Linked DNA regions of Homo sapiens: region 1 is linked to region 2. The links are contacts of gene promoters, found by promoter capture Hi-C in blood cells and fetal thymus (Javierre and others, 2016). All regions are on one chromosome and are shown on one strand. Each heading gives the region's core, a stretch centred on a gene start or on the middle of the fragment in contact. The rest is flanking DNA. Distances are from core to core; before and after follow the strand shown.

Region 1 (6,210 bases), core at 2,360-4,859, 150 kb after region 2:
ACTAGGTATATACCCAAAGGACTATAAATCATGCTGCTATAAAGACACATGCACACGTATGTTTATTGCGGCATTATTCACAATAGCAAAGACTTGGAACCAACCCAAATGTCCATCAATGATAGACTGGATTAAGAAAATGTGGCATATATACACCACGGAATACTATGCAGCCATAAAAAAATGAGTCATGTCCTTTGCAGGGACATGGATGAGGCTGGAAACCATCATTCTCAGCAAACTAACACAGGAACAGAAAACCAAACACCTCATGTTTTCATTCAAAAGTGGCAGTTGAACAATGGGAACACATGGACACAGGGAGGGGAACATCACACAACGGGGCCTGTTGGGGGGTGGGGGACTAGGGGAGGGAGAGCATTAGGAGAAATACCTAATGTAGATGACAGGTTGATGGGTGCAGCAAACCATCATGGCACGTGTATATCTATGTAACAAAACTGCACGTTCTGCACATGTACCCCAGAACCTAAAGTATAATTAAAAAACAAAACAAAATAAAACAAAAATCTCCTTTAATTGGCGGTGGGGGGTGGGGGAGGACTGCAGAATGACCAAATAATAAAGCTGTATCTGAACTTCAGTAGGGAGTTGGTGGGGAGTGGCTACCCCAGATCTAGAGCTGAGTCCTAAACTCTGTGAGTTGTGGTGCTTGGTTTCACCAGTTCACAGGATCCACATGTTAATCAAACTCACAAAAGTTTGATTTATAAATGGGAAGATCGGGTTATTAACTTATGCTGTGATAGTGATAGTGCTTTCACCTGGGAAACAGGACTAGCCATGGGCTCCATGTGTGACCTCCCCATGAAGCCTGATCCTCTGGAAACCCCAAAATACATCAGAGAGGTATTTAGTGAGGGTAACAGAGCAACTTTCCCCTCCTTCCACTTGGCCGTGCCCTCCTAGCACTTGTTCTATTTTTTTTTAAGCTTATTTTTGAAGGTCAACTTTCTTTTTCCCTAAAATGTATTTTAAAAGGGAACTTTATATCACTGCTATCCATTTTATTTTATTTATTTTTATTTTGTCAGGGCCTTATTCTGTTGCTTAGGCTGGAGTGCAGTGTCATGATCATGGCTCACTGCAGCCTCGACCTCCCTGGACTCAGTGATCCTTCCACCTCAGCATCCTACGTAGCTGGAATTACACACACGAGCCACTGTGCCTGGCCACTTCTGTACATTTTAAACCAGAGCCATTTGAGATAAATAGAAAGTAACTAAAAAGAAAAAAGAAAGGTTAAATTGTAGCTGGAAAATTTTGCTTGCTACTAGTGTGGGGTCCTAGGCCTACTCTATTGCTACAAAGTAAGAAAATGGTTAGCAAAGTTTTAAAGACTAGCAGCAAACCTAGGCTTTCTTCTGGACTATCATCAGTGCAGCATGTGATCTGTAGGTAAAAGATGTTAAGATGTAGGACTCTGTATACCCCATCAGCATTGCTGACAAATAGCAAGTTAGTGCCCTGGTTGAAGGCCTGTTTTGTTTTCTTAGTGGGTATCAATCTTTTAAGCCTGGTAACATTGAGATTAAAAATAGAAACGTTTAAGAGAATGAAAAAGCATATGTGCACAGAAAAAGTGTGAAAGGGTATCACCCAAGTGTCAATAACATTTATTGATGGAGGTTAGTTTATGTGGAATAATTTTAGATTTGTTGCAAAGATAATGCAGAGTTCTTATATACCCCTAGCCCAGTTTCAGTTGCCCTTAATATTATCATCTTACATTGCTGTGGCACATTTGTCAAAACTAAGAAACCAACATGGTACATTAATATTAAACTCCAGACTTTACTCACATTTCACCAGATTTTCCGTGAATGTCCTTTTTTTGGTTCGAGGATCCCACCAGGGCCCCACAATGCATTTTAGTTGTCATGTCTCTTTCTCCTCTGGTCTGTGAAAGTTTCTTAGTCTTTCCTTGGTTTTCATGACACTGTCTGTTTTGAGGAGTAATGGCTGGGTGTTTTGTCAAATGTCCCAAGGTTATCTGATATTTTTCATGATTAAGCTGTGGTTAAGATTTTTCAGAAAGAACACTATAGAGGAGAAGTGCCCGTCTCCCGGCAGCATGTCAGGGTTCCAGATATCCACACGAGTCATGACTCATGGGTGTTAACCTTCATCACGTAAGGTGGTGTCAGGCAGGTTTCTCCACTGTACCATTACTATTTCCCCCTTTCCATCTCTATTCTGTGGAAGTGAGTCACTAAGTCCAGCCCACATTAGAAATGGGGGGAGGAGGGAGAATTCAGTTCTACCTCTTGGGTCAGATGGTTGGAGGAACCCAGTTCATTTGCTACTTTCCAGTGGAGATACATACAAATACCCAGGGAAATGCTCCAGATGCTGTGCCTGCTTTCCAGAAACCACAGAGGGCTTCCCCGCAGGCTGTGGTTTCTGGAGGTTTTCCTGTCAACAGACTCCCGTTTATTGACTACCACAGCTCAGTTCTAAAAATGTCCCCCAATCCCTGCCCCAAGGTGTGCAACTTGTTCCTCACCTTCTGCAACTGTAATTGTTACCACTTCATTTAGAAATAGTCTAACCACAGATACTTGAGGTTCTTAACTGGAAAAAGGAAAAAATATGTTCTTTATTCAGAATCAAATTTTCTTTAAAAAAATCTCAAAGGTGTAATGTTTATTCAGTGAGCATTTAGGAAACCTTGCAAGTCTCACCACTCCAAAATTAAATTACACGTGGCCTAATCAGAATATACATAAATAGCTGGGCGTGGTGGCTCATGCCTGTAATTCCAGCATTTTGGGACGCAGAGGCGGGCAGATCACTTGAGGTCAGGAGTTCGAGAATAGCTTGGCCAACATGGTGAAACCCTCTCTACTAAAAATATATAAATTAGGCATGGTGGCGCATGCCTGTGATCCCAGCTACTCGGGAGGCTGAGGCGGGAGAATCACTTGGGAGGTGGAGGTTGCAGTGAGCTGAGACCCTGCCACTGCACTCCAGCCTGGGCCACTGAGTGAGACTCTGTCTCAAAAAAAAAAAAAAAAAAAAAAGAGTATACGTAAATGGAAGAATAGTATATTGGTCAGGATAGACCAGAATTTTCCTGTGGTAACAACCTGCCAATTCCAGTGGTGCAAACATGATTAGCAGGGGAGGTCTGCTCTTCCTAGTCACTGATGCAGCCAGGCTGATGGAGGCTCCACTTGTCCCATGCTGCCATGGCTGCTGATGCAGGAAAGAGGAGAGAATCACACATAGCACTAAAGCTTCTAACCAAAAGTGGCATTGGTTACTTGTGTTCACATTGCATTGGCCAATGCAAGCCACATTTTTCCATTTAACTTCAATCCTTGCCAGGCACGCTTCTCTTTGTCTTCTTAGTGTCTACTGACAAGTTAGTATCTATATTGCTCTTCACTTAGCTGCCATATTTATGTATCACTTTTGACCAAGTTTTCTAAAATGAGAAGTTTTGATGAATAATGTCCTTTTTGACTCTAAAATTCAAAGACCATGTGATCTCTAAAAGCTTTTCCAGTCCTAAAATAGCGTGATTCTAAATCTTTCCATCGTGTGCTTTGAGCCATAAAGTACCCCCTTTATTTATGTGGAGAATTACCATTAGAGTCAACTCCCATTATTTAATAATTGTGGATAGGGAAGAGAGAATATAGAAAAATAACGCTGTAGTATAAAGCTTAAAAGTTTTAAAAACCAAAGAATGAAATATTTTATTAGAACAACTAAGCCAGAACAACATAATGAAGAAAAACAAAAAACAAAACAAAACAAACAACAACAACAAAAAACCAAACAGCCAACATTCCTTGCCTCCCATCAAATGGATAAAAACATGGATTTCAGAGTTGGATTTATTTCCTCATAGTAGATAGCTGTCTTTCTAGAACAGTGATTCCCACAGGAATCACTAAAAATGCAGATTCCTAGTCTCTACATCAGCTTTGAGTTGGTTTCTATGCTGAGCAAGCAAAGTGTCTGGGTTATAATAGGGTGCTCAATAAATAGCAGCTATTTTATTATTAGCAAATTAATAATACCCAAGTTATACCTTTTTAAGAAGAAAGAAAAAGGAAACCCATGGCAGGATTTTTCTTAGTTGCCAAGGGCAATATCAAGACACCTGCTGCAGAAACTCAGGTGTGAAGGCTCAGATGGGGATGGTGATGATGGCAGGGAAGAGATAGGAAAGGCCTTGGTAATTTGAGTGGAAAGAAGGGAGAATAAAGGAGTGAATCAAAGACATCTCCCAAGTTCTTGAGTAGGTAAGTGACAAGCAGGAGGTGATTTAAAAACAAAATACACACAATGCTTTAAAAATCATTTCAATTTCAGAGATTCTGAGGGCTCAAAGGAAGCCAGAGTAGTCACATGACCCACCATGAGTCCCAGGCTCCTGAGTTGCACAATTAACTTCTGACATTGACTAAAGTGACCATTTAAAAGTGAGAAAGTGTTGCACCAAGAGTTGCCTGTAGTCACTACACCCCAAGATGTATGAATTACCAATTTCCTTTTTCTAAACAGTATTGACATGTAATTTACAGAGCATATAATTCACCTATTTAAAGTGTACACTTCAATGGTTTTCAGTGTATCCACAGAATTATACAATCATCAGCACAATGAATTTTAGGACATTTTCATTATCCCTGCCAAAATCCCTCATATCAGTAGTCACTCCTCTCCCGACCCCAGGCCTAGACAACTACTCATTTGTCTATGGATTTTCCTGTCCTAGACACTGCACAGAAATGAATCTGACATTATGTGGTCTTTTGTGAGTGACTTCTTTCACTTAGAATAATGTTTTCAAGGTTCACCCATGTTGTAGCATGGATTAGTACTCCATGCCTTTTTATTGAGGAATGATATTCTACTGTATGGATATTCTGTTTATCCATTTATAAGTGATGGACATTTGGGTTGTTTCTACTCTTTGGCTCTTATGAATAATTCTTCTATAAATATTCCTGTACAAGTTTTTGTGTGGATATGTTTTTGTTTCTCTTGGAGTAGAATCATTAGGTCATAATCCCTCTATGTTTAACCTTTTCAGGAACTACTAGAGTGTTTATCAAAGCTGCTGCACCATTTCACATCCCTGCCAGCGATTTCTCCACCTCCTCACTACTTCTGTTACCTGACTTTTTGATTCCAGTCATGCTAGAGGGCATGAAGGGGTACCTCACTGTGGTTTTGATTTGCATTTCCTTGAAGACCAATGATGCCATGCATCTTATTGGCCATTTGTATATCTTCTTTGGAGAAATATCTATTCAGATCCTTTGCCCATTTTCAAAATCGGGGTTTTTTAAATTATTGAGTCATAAGAGTTATTTATGTATTTCTGGATACAAGTCCATTTTTAGATGTATAATTTGCAAATACTTTCCTCATTCTATAGATTGTCTTTTCACTCTTTTTTTTTTTTTTTGAAATGGGAGTCTCACTCTGTCACCCAGGCTGGAGTGCAGTGGTGCTCTCTTGGCTCACTGCAACCTCCGCCTCCTGGGTTCAAGTGATTCTCCTGCCTCAGACTCCTGAGTTGCTGGGACTACAGGTGCGTGCCACCACGCCTGGCTTTATATATTTTTAGTACAGATGGGGTTTCACCATGTTGGCCAAGCTGGTCTCGAACTCCTGATCTCAAATGATCCACCCACCTTGACCACCCAAAGTGCTGGGATTACAGGCATGAGCCACTGCACCTGGCCTTAACTTTCCTGGTGGTATCTTTTGCAACCACATCTAAGGCTTTGCGGTCATATCTAAGAAACTGTTGCCTAATCCAAGGTGAGAGAAACTTACACCTATGTTTACTTTTTTTTGAGACCAAGTCTCGTTCTTGTCGCCCAGGTTGGAGTGCAATGGTGCAATCTTGACTCACCACAACCTCCGTCTCCTGGGTTCGCCCAGGTTGGAGTGCAATGGTGCAATCTTGGCTCACTACAACCTCCGTCTCCCAGGTTCAACCAATTCTCCTGCCTCAGCCTCTCAAGTAGCTGGAATTACAGGTGCCTGCCACCATGCCTGGCTAATTTTTGTATTTTTAGTAGAGACAGCATTTCACCACGTTGGCCAGGCTGGTCTCAAACTCCTGACCTCAGGCAATCTGCCTGCCTCAGCCTCCCAAAGTGCTGGGATTACAGGCATGAGCCACCATGCCTGGCCACCTATGTTTACTTCTAACACAGT
Region 2 (6,037 bases), core at 2,202-4,701:
AAGCAGAAAGTTATATTTTCAAACAGTCTTGATGAGGAAATACAAGACCCACTGAAAACCTATTCACCACCTAGATAAACAATATTTCCCTCTAAGTACTGGCTGGACCCCCACTTCAAAGTGGGTATGTCAGAAGTTTCTCAACTCCTCTCAGGTCCCTTTCGCTGAGCTTCTGTCTGCCAAGAGCAAATCCAAACTGCAGAAGGCTCTTTCCTTAGAATTTTTTTGCTAAATATTTTTGGCACTAAGGCTATCTAACACATCAGAGATTTTCAACAAATACCACATTTTTGCCAGAAAGCCAGGAGTGTTTTGTCTAGAGAAATCTTGTCTTTTTGTCTAGAAAAAATTTCTGTATCTGCCACAGCCTATCTTCGTCTGTTTTCAATGTTGCAATGTGTGAAACTATAAAAACCTAAACTATGAAAAAGGCAAGGTACCAAATCACATAGAGCATGCTATCTTTTGTGTGTAAAATGGTAGTATGCTTCTAGATGGACAGGCCATTCCAAAAGAAACAGGTAACACCAAATTCCTCTGAGGCGAAGAACTAGGAGCCTTGAAGGATAGGAGAGTGAGAACCAATTCTTTTCACTGTATTCCCTTAGGCAGTATTTGCATTTTATTTTATTTTTTAATTTTATTATTTTGCTGGGTGCCAGCATTGTTTTTTAAGGAAAACAATGAGAAAACACTCCTGAGAAATACATTTCCTGTGAAATGCAGTTTAGCCAATAATATTTGAGAATCTACTAAGTATAAATTTCCACACATAATTTAGGTACACGATAATCTGATGAAATGAATACAAAGCTTCAATGGAATATCAATTGGGTTATATTGTGTCTATATATAAATGTACATATACATCCTTCAGACTATATCAATTTTCAGAATCATCCACACGCATCCAAATAGTGTTTCCGGCATGAAGATATGTAATTTCTAGAATGAGGTACAAACAATTGACAGGAAGAATTGTCAAAGACTGTAGATTTTTCTTTCCCAGAACTGTTTACCTACAGTGATGGAATACTATTTGGCTTATCAAGTTCCTAAGCAGTCAGAAAGTGACTCTCTGCAGAGAACCTTCAGATGTGATAAAGTGCTTTTAATTTAAAGATGGAAGCATTCCAGATGTATATGCACTTATAACAGGACCCAATGCAGTTGAAAAACAAAATAAGCAAAAATTGTAGTACAACCACTTGATGTTAACTGCTATGTCAAAGTTCTACAAAGAAAATTACATGAGATGAAATTTATAGCCTGAAAACAGAGTAATAATCATCTGGAAAAAATTAAAATTGTAAACACTTTTCAACTTGGACAACTAATCAATATGGAGATTATGATAATGCGTTTCATATTTGAAATACGTTTGAACTTGAAAAATAAAATATAATGGGCCACAAATAACTTTTATATTCACAGATGTCATAACACAACTATTTTTTACTTACCCTGTTGTCTCTGAGAAACATTTGAAATGACTATTATTTTATTTAAGCTAATACATACAAGTAAACAATACAATTTAAACTAAACCGGAAACGTAAAATTCAAACTGTAGTTTTCAGAAGGATCCCAGCAAGTGTTTAAATACATACATAAGTGCTTCTTTGTGTATCATTAGTTTGTTTTTCTTAAGTAGGTAATTCCAGTGCAGGTGAGGATGAAGACCTAGCCGATGTGTTTCAAGTTCATAAAAGACCTGTAAAAGTAGCATCGTGTTAAAACTGTAGCAATATTAATCTTGCTAAGTCAATACTGATGTTTGTAAACAATTCCTGTAACCTTGCATTTTATTTTTACAGTATATTAAAACATTACTCTTAACATTCGTCTGTCACTTCCTTCCCACAGGTGACCTATGGCTTTTTCCCCCCTAGAAAGGGCAGATTCTTTGCAAAACCATACTGAGTTGAACAAAACAATTATTAAAATCCTAAGAACAAAACCATGGAGAACATTTCCACCAAAGGGCTAAAACCAAACAGAAAAAGGAATATGTAACACTGTTCTTGCCTTCAAGACATGTACTGTCAGGTTAAACTTAAATCGATTCCACACACCCTTTTCTGGAAAAAAAATAAAACAAAATATTGCTTAAGAAAGCACTCTCCTTGTTTTTCTTTCTCCTGCTCCAGTTTCCAGGAAAACTTAAAAGTGTTATCTTTGTTTTCTCGTTATCATTATTATTGCTGCAAGATTGTTTTCAAAATTTAATCAATATGCTTTGCACACTGCTTTTGTCTTATGCTTTGTCTTGTTCAGTATTTAGTAGAGAGTTCATAATGTCTAAGTATTCGGGTAAAACTGCAAGTCAAAGGATGACAAAGTTTTAAAAATCTGTTTATCTATGGTTTTGTATTTTTCCAAAGAAACTACAATTTTCACCTGATTTCTGCATCCATTTTCATATCGCTTGAACAGGTTATATTTTTCCAACAACAACAAAAAGACCCGTTGCGAACAACTAGAAATATTTGGAAGTTTTGATATTTTGTCTTTCTCTTCTTTTTGATCACGGTAGTGATGGGAGAATAAACTTAAGTCAGAGATATTTACTGAGAGAAAGAGAGTAAGAACACACACAAAGGGAAAGAAAGCAGAAAAAACTTTACAAGTGCAAACTCAGTAGGAAACATTTTAGGAAATAAAAATGTTCCCCCTCTTTCCCTTGTTCAATTTCCATCCCCACAGAGGAAAAACAGAATACTTACAAGTTAGCATCTGCGTATTTATCAGTGTATGTGTGTTTTCTCTCTTCTCTGGGCTTGGATACTTTGAGCTAATTTGGAAGTGCCCGTTTGGTTGCCCACAAAATGATGCTTAAGGGTCTAAAAACGCATAAATTAGGGAGCCCTACAATGGCAAAGGACGGTCATTGTACCTCCTCTCTTTATGCGCTCTTACGGTGGGACCCAAGAGCCTTTTTTTTTTTTTTTAACACTTTAGGTGATGGAGCGAATGAGGGGCTGATAACTGGAGAGGACGAAGCAAGCCCCCGCAACACCCTCCCCCCAAACTTAGCAGCACGTTCCCCATTCCGCAATTATACCGGACTTTGGTGCGAAGTCACTTTAGAAAACTGGGATCTGGAAGGGGCCAGGCGCGGAGTCCATGTCTAGCCTCGACGCCAGCCTCCGAGTTTCTATTTCTGGTGCTCGAGGGCTGGGGTAACGGCCGCGGATGGAGGAGCGAAGGATGGGAAAAGCAAAGGATGGGAAAAGCAAAGATGGGAAAAGCAACGGGGAGTGATCTTTCCAAGAAACACCCAACTGCCCCTTTTACCTTTTTTTGCCTCCATTATGGGGCGGGGGTTGGGGGGGCGAGAGAAAAAGATGTCAATGACCATTGTTTGCTCGTTTGGGATGTTGCTCCGCCCCCCGAGTCTGTCGTAAACCTGGCGCCGGACTAAAATAAACCCCAGATCCCGCAGCCCGGGGGGCTCGCCGAGCCGCCGACTCCTCGTCACAGGCTCAGCTGCCGCGGCCGAGGTGGCGGCGACGAGCGGCCGCCGCGTCCTGCCGGCGCGCGCCCCAGGCCCCCCTACCTGGCTGCCCGCCGAGCCATGTCGTTGAGCCCAAAGCACACGACGCCCTTCTCCGTGTCCGACATCCTGAGCCCCATCGAGGAGACCTACAAGAAGTTCAGCGGCGCCATGGACGGCGCGCCACCCGGCCTGGGGGCGCCCCTGGGGGCCGCGGCCGCCTACCGCGCGCCGCCACCTGGGCCCTCCTCGCAGGCGGCGACCGTGGCGGGCATGCAGCCTTCTCACGCCATGGCGGGTCACAACGCGGCGGCCGCGGCGGCGGCGGCAGCAGCTGCGGCGGCGGCGGCCGCCACCTACCACATGCCGCCCGGCGTCTCGCAGTTCCCGCACGGCGCCATGGGCAGCTACTGCAACGGCGGCCTGGGCAACATGGGCGAGCTGCCCGCCTACACGGACGGCATGCGGGGCGGCGCGGCCACCGGCTGGTACGGCGCCAACCCGGACCCACGCTACTCGTCAAGTGAGAGGGGCCAGGAGCGCGGGGCTGCGGGCGGCTCAGGCGTTTCCCGCCACAGCCGAGGGGCGCGGGGGCGCGGGACGGGGTGCGCGCGGCTTAGGAGGTCCTGGGGCCGAGCGGGCGCGCGGGGCGTCCTGGGACGCGGCCCGGGACGCGCGGGGTTTCTGGGGACCCTGGGCGCGCGGGGGGTCCTGGGACCTGACCGGGAACGCGCGCGGCGTCCTGGGACCCGTTGAGGGCGTGGTGCTCTGGGACCCGCCGAGGGCGCGCGGGGCGTGCTGGGGCCGGAGGCCGCGGCGGTCAGGGGGTCTTGGGATTCAGCGAGGGCCCGGCGGCGTCGCGGCCGCGGCGTGAAGAGAGCGGCGGCTGGACCGGCTCCCGGCGGGCCTGGAGCTCACTCGCCTTCCCCCTTGGGACTCTTCCCCAGTCTCCAGGTTCATGGGGCCGTCGGCGGGCGTGAATGTGGCCGGCATGGGGTCGCTGACCGGCATCGCGGACGCCGCCAAGTCGCTGGGCCCGCTGCACGCGGCGGCGGCGGCAGCCGCTCCGCGAAGGAAGCGCCGCGTGCTCTTCTCGCAGGCGCAGGTCTACGAGCTGGAGCGGCGCTTCAAGCAGCAGAAGTACCTGTCGGCGCCCGAGCGCGAGCACCTGGCCAGCATGATCCACCTGACGCCCACGCAGGTCAAGATCTGGTTCCAGAACCACCGGTACAAGATGAAACGGCAGGCCAAGGACAAGGCGGCGCAGCAGCTGCAGCAGGAGGGCGGCCTGGGCCCGCCGCCGCCTCCGCCGCCGTCCCCGCGCCGCGTGGCGGTGCCTGTGCTGGTCAAGGACGGCAAGCCGTGCCAGAACGGCGCCAGCACGCCCACCCCCGGCCAGGCCGGTCCGCAGCCGCCGGCCCCGACGCCAGCACCTGAGCTGGAGGAGCTGTCGCCCAGCCCACCCGCGCTGCACGGCCCGGGGGGCGGCCTGGCGGCCCTGGACGCGGCCGCCGGGGAGTACAGCGGCGGCGTCCTGGGCGCCAACCTGCTCTATGGCAGGACGTGGTGACAGCGAGGGCGCCCCGGGGCTAGGTCCTGGTGCACCCGAAGGGTCTGCAAGAAACTGCTAGAACGGATGGGGGAGGCATGCGAAAACCGACTCGCGCGTGTAAACTGCGATTCAAAACGAACCGGTCTCAGAGAGGAGCAGGCTGTGAACCTCTTGCTGGGGGCGGGGGACAGCGACAGCCCGGAAACCGAGTAGTGTAACATTATGCCACGAGGCTTTGAGGTGGTGATTTTCTCCTCCTAGAAGTTCTTAAATGACGCGAAAAGGTGGAGAAGTTCACACGGCATTCTTAACTACAGCTCTCAAAGTTGGAAACTTTGTTGGCGTTTGTAACTATAAAAATCAACCCAGCTTTAACAATCAGTCCTTTTTGAAGTGGAATTTATCTTGGGAGATTAATTTTCGAAGGGCCCCCTAAGTGCAATTTCATTAATGTTTGATTGAAAGTAAATTGAAGTGTAGCTCAAGGTGGATCATACACATAGCAACATTATTGCAGAGGAATTATTGCCATTTAGGTAATAGAGCAATGGAATCAAAATAAAATACTGATTATATGGATTGATGGAGCTTTTTAAATTTAATGCTGATTTCAAAATGTTTTGATGATTATTTGGCAAGTGAGTGTTTGTATGTTACGCTAAAAGAGGATTTTCCCCCCTAAGATGCAGCTCACCATAAGAAAGGTTGTATACTATTTGTATATGAAATCTGGTCTCCCAACATCAACTGAGAAAATAAATAACCCTATCCTTCTGTAAACATGGTATTTACTCTCTTTGAGGTATTTTCTTGTCTGAATTTGAATACCTTGATAAAGTACTAGAACAAACAAGTAAAATTTCTAAAATTGACATCAATTAATCTATATTCAAAGCATGACAAGAAGAAGAAAGGTGATTTATTGAATTGTAATCAAGATATAAGGAATAAGTAACTACAATATAATTTTTCCACCATATTTAGAACTT

What was found. Contacts are between HindIII fragments. The CHiCAGO score rates a contact against its expected background, and 5 or more counts as called.
Region 1: a fragment that was not itself captured here is called in contact with the fragment with the promoter of NKX2-4 in region 2 in 3 of 17 cell types (activated CD4 T cells, megakaryocytes and total CD8 T cells); the score reaches 6.3 in activated CD4 T cells.

The regions. Positions count from the first base shown.
Region 1 is chr20:21,247,524-21,253,733 of GRCh38, reverse strand. No RefSeq gene overlaps it. Among named protein-coding and RNA genes, the nearest start is that of KIZ-AS1, 32 kb to the right of the region's middle. The HindIII fragment of the contact is 168 bases long and covers 3,526-3,693 here.
Region 2 is chr20:21,394,940-21,400,976 of GRCh38, reverse strand. It overlaps NKX2-4 (NK2 homeobox 4), which reads left to right and starts at 3,451. Exons shown (of 2, transcript NM_033176.2): 1 at 3,451-4,019; 2 at 4,444-5,612. The coding sequence starts at 3,578. The coding sequence ends at 5,066. It overlaps LOC105372558 (a long non-coding RNA gene), which reads right to left and starts at 3,043. Exons shown (of 4, transcript XR_001754528.1): 1 at 2,401-3,043; 2 at 1,611-1,714. The HindIII fragment of the contact is 6,496 bases long and covers 816-6,037 here.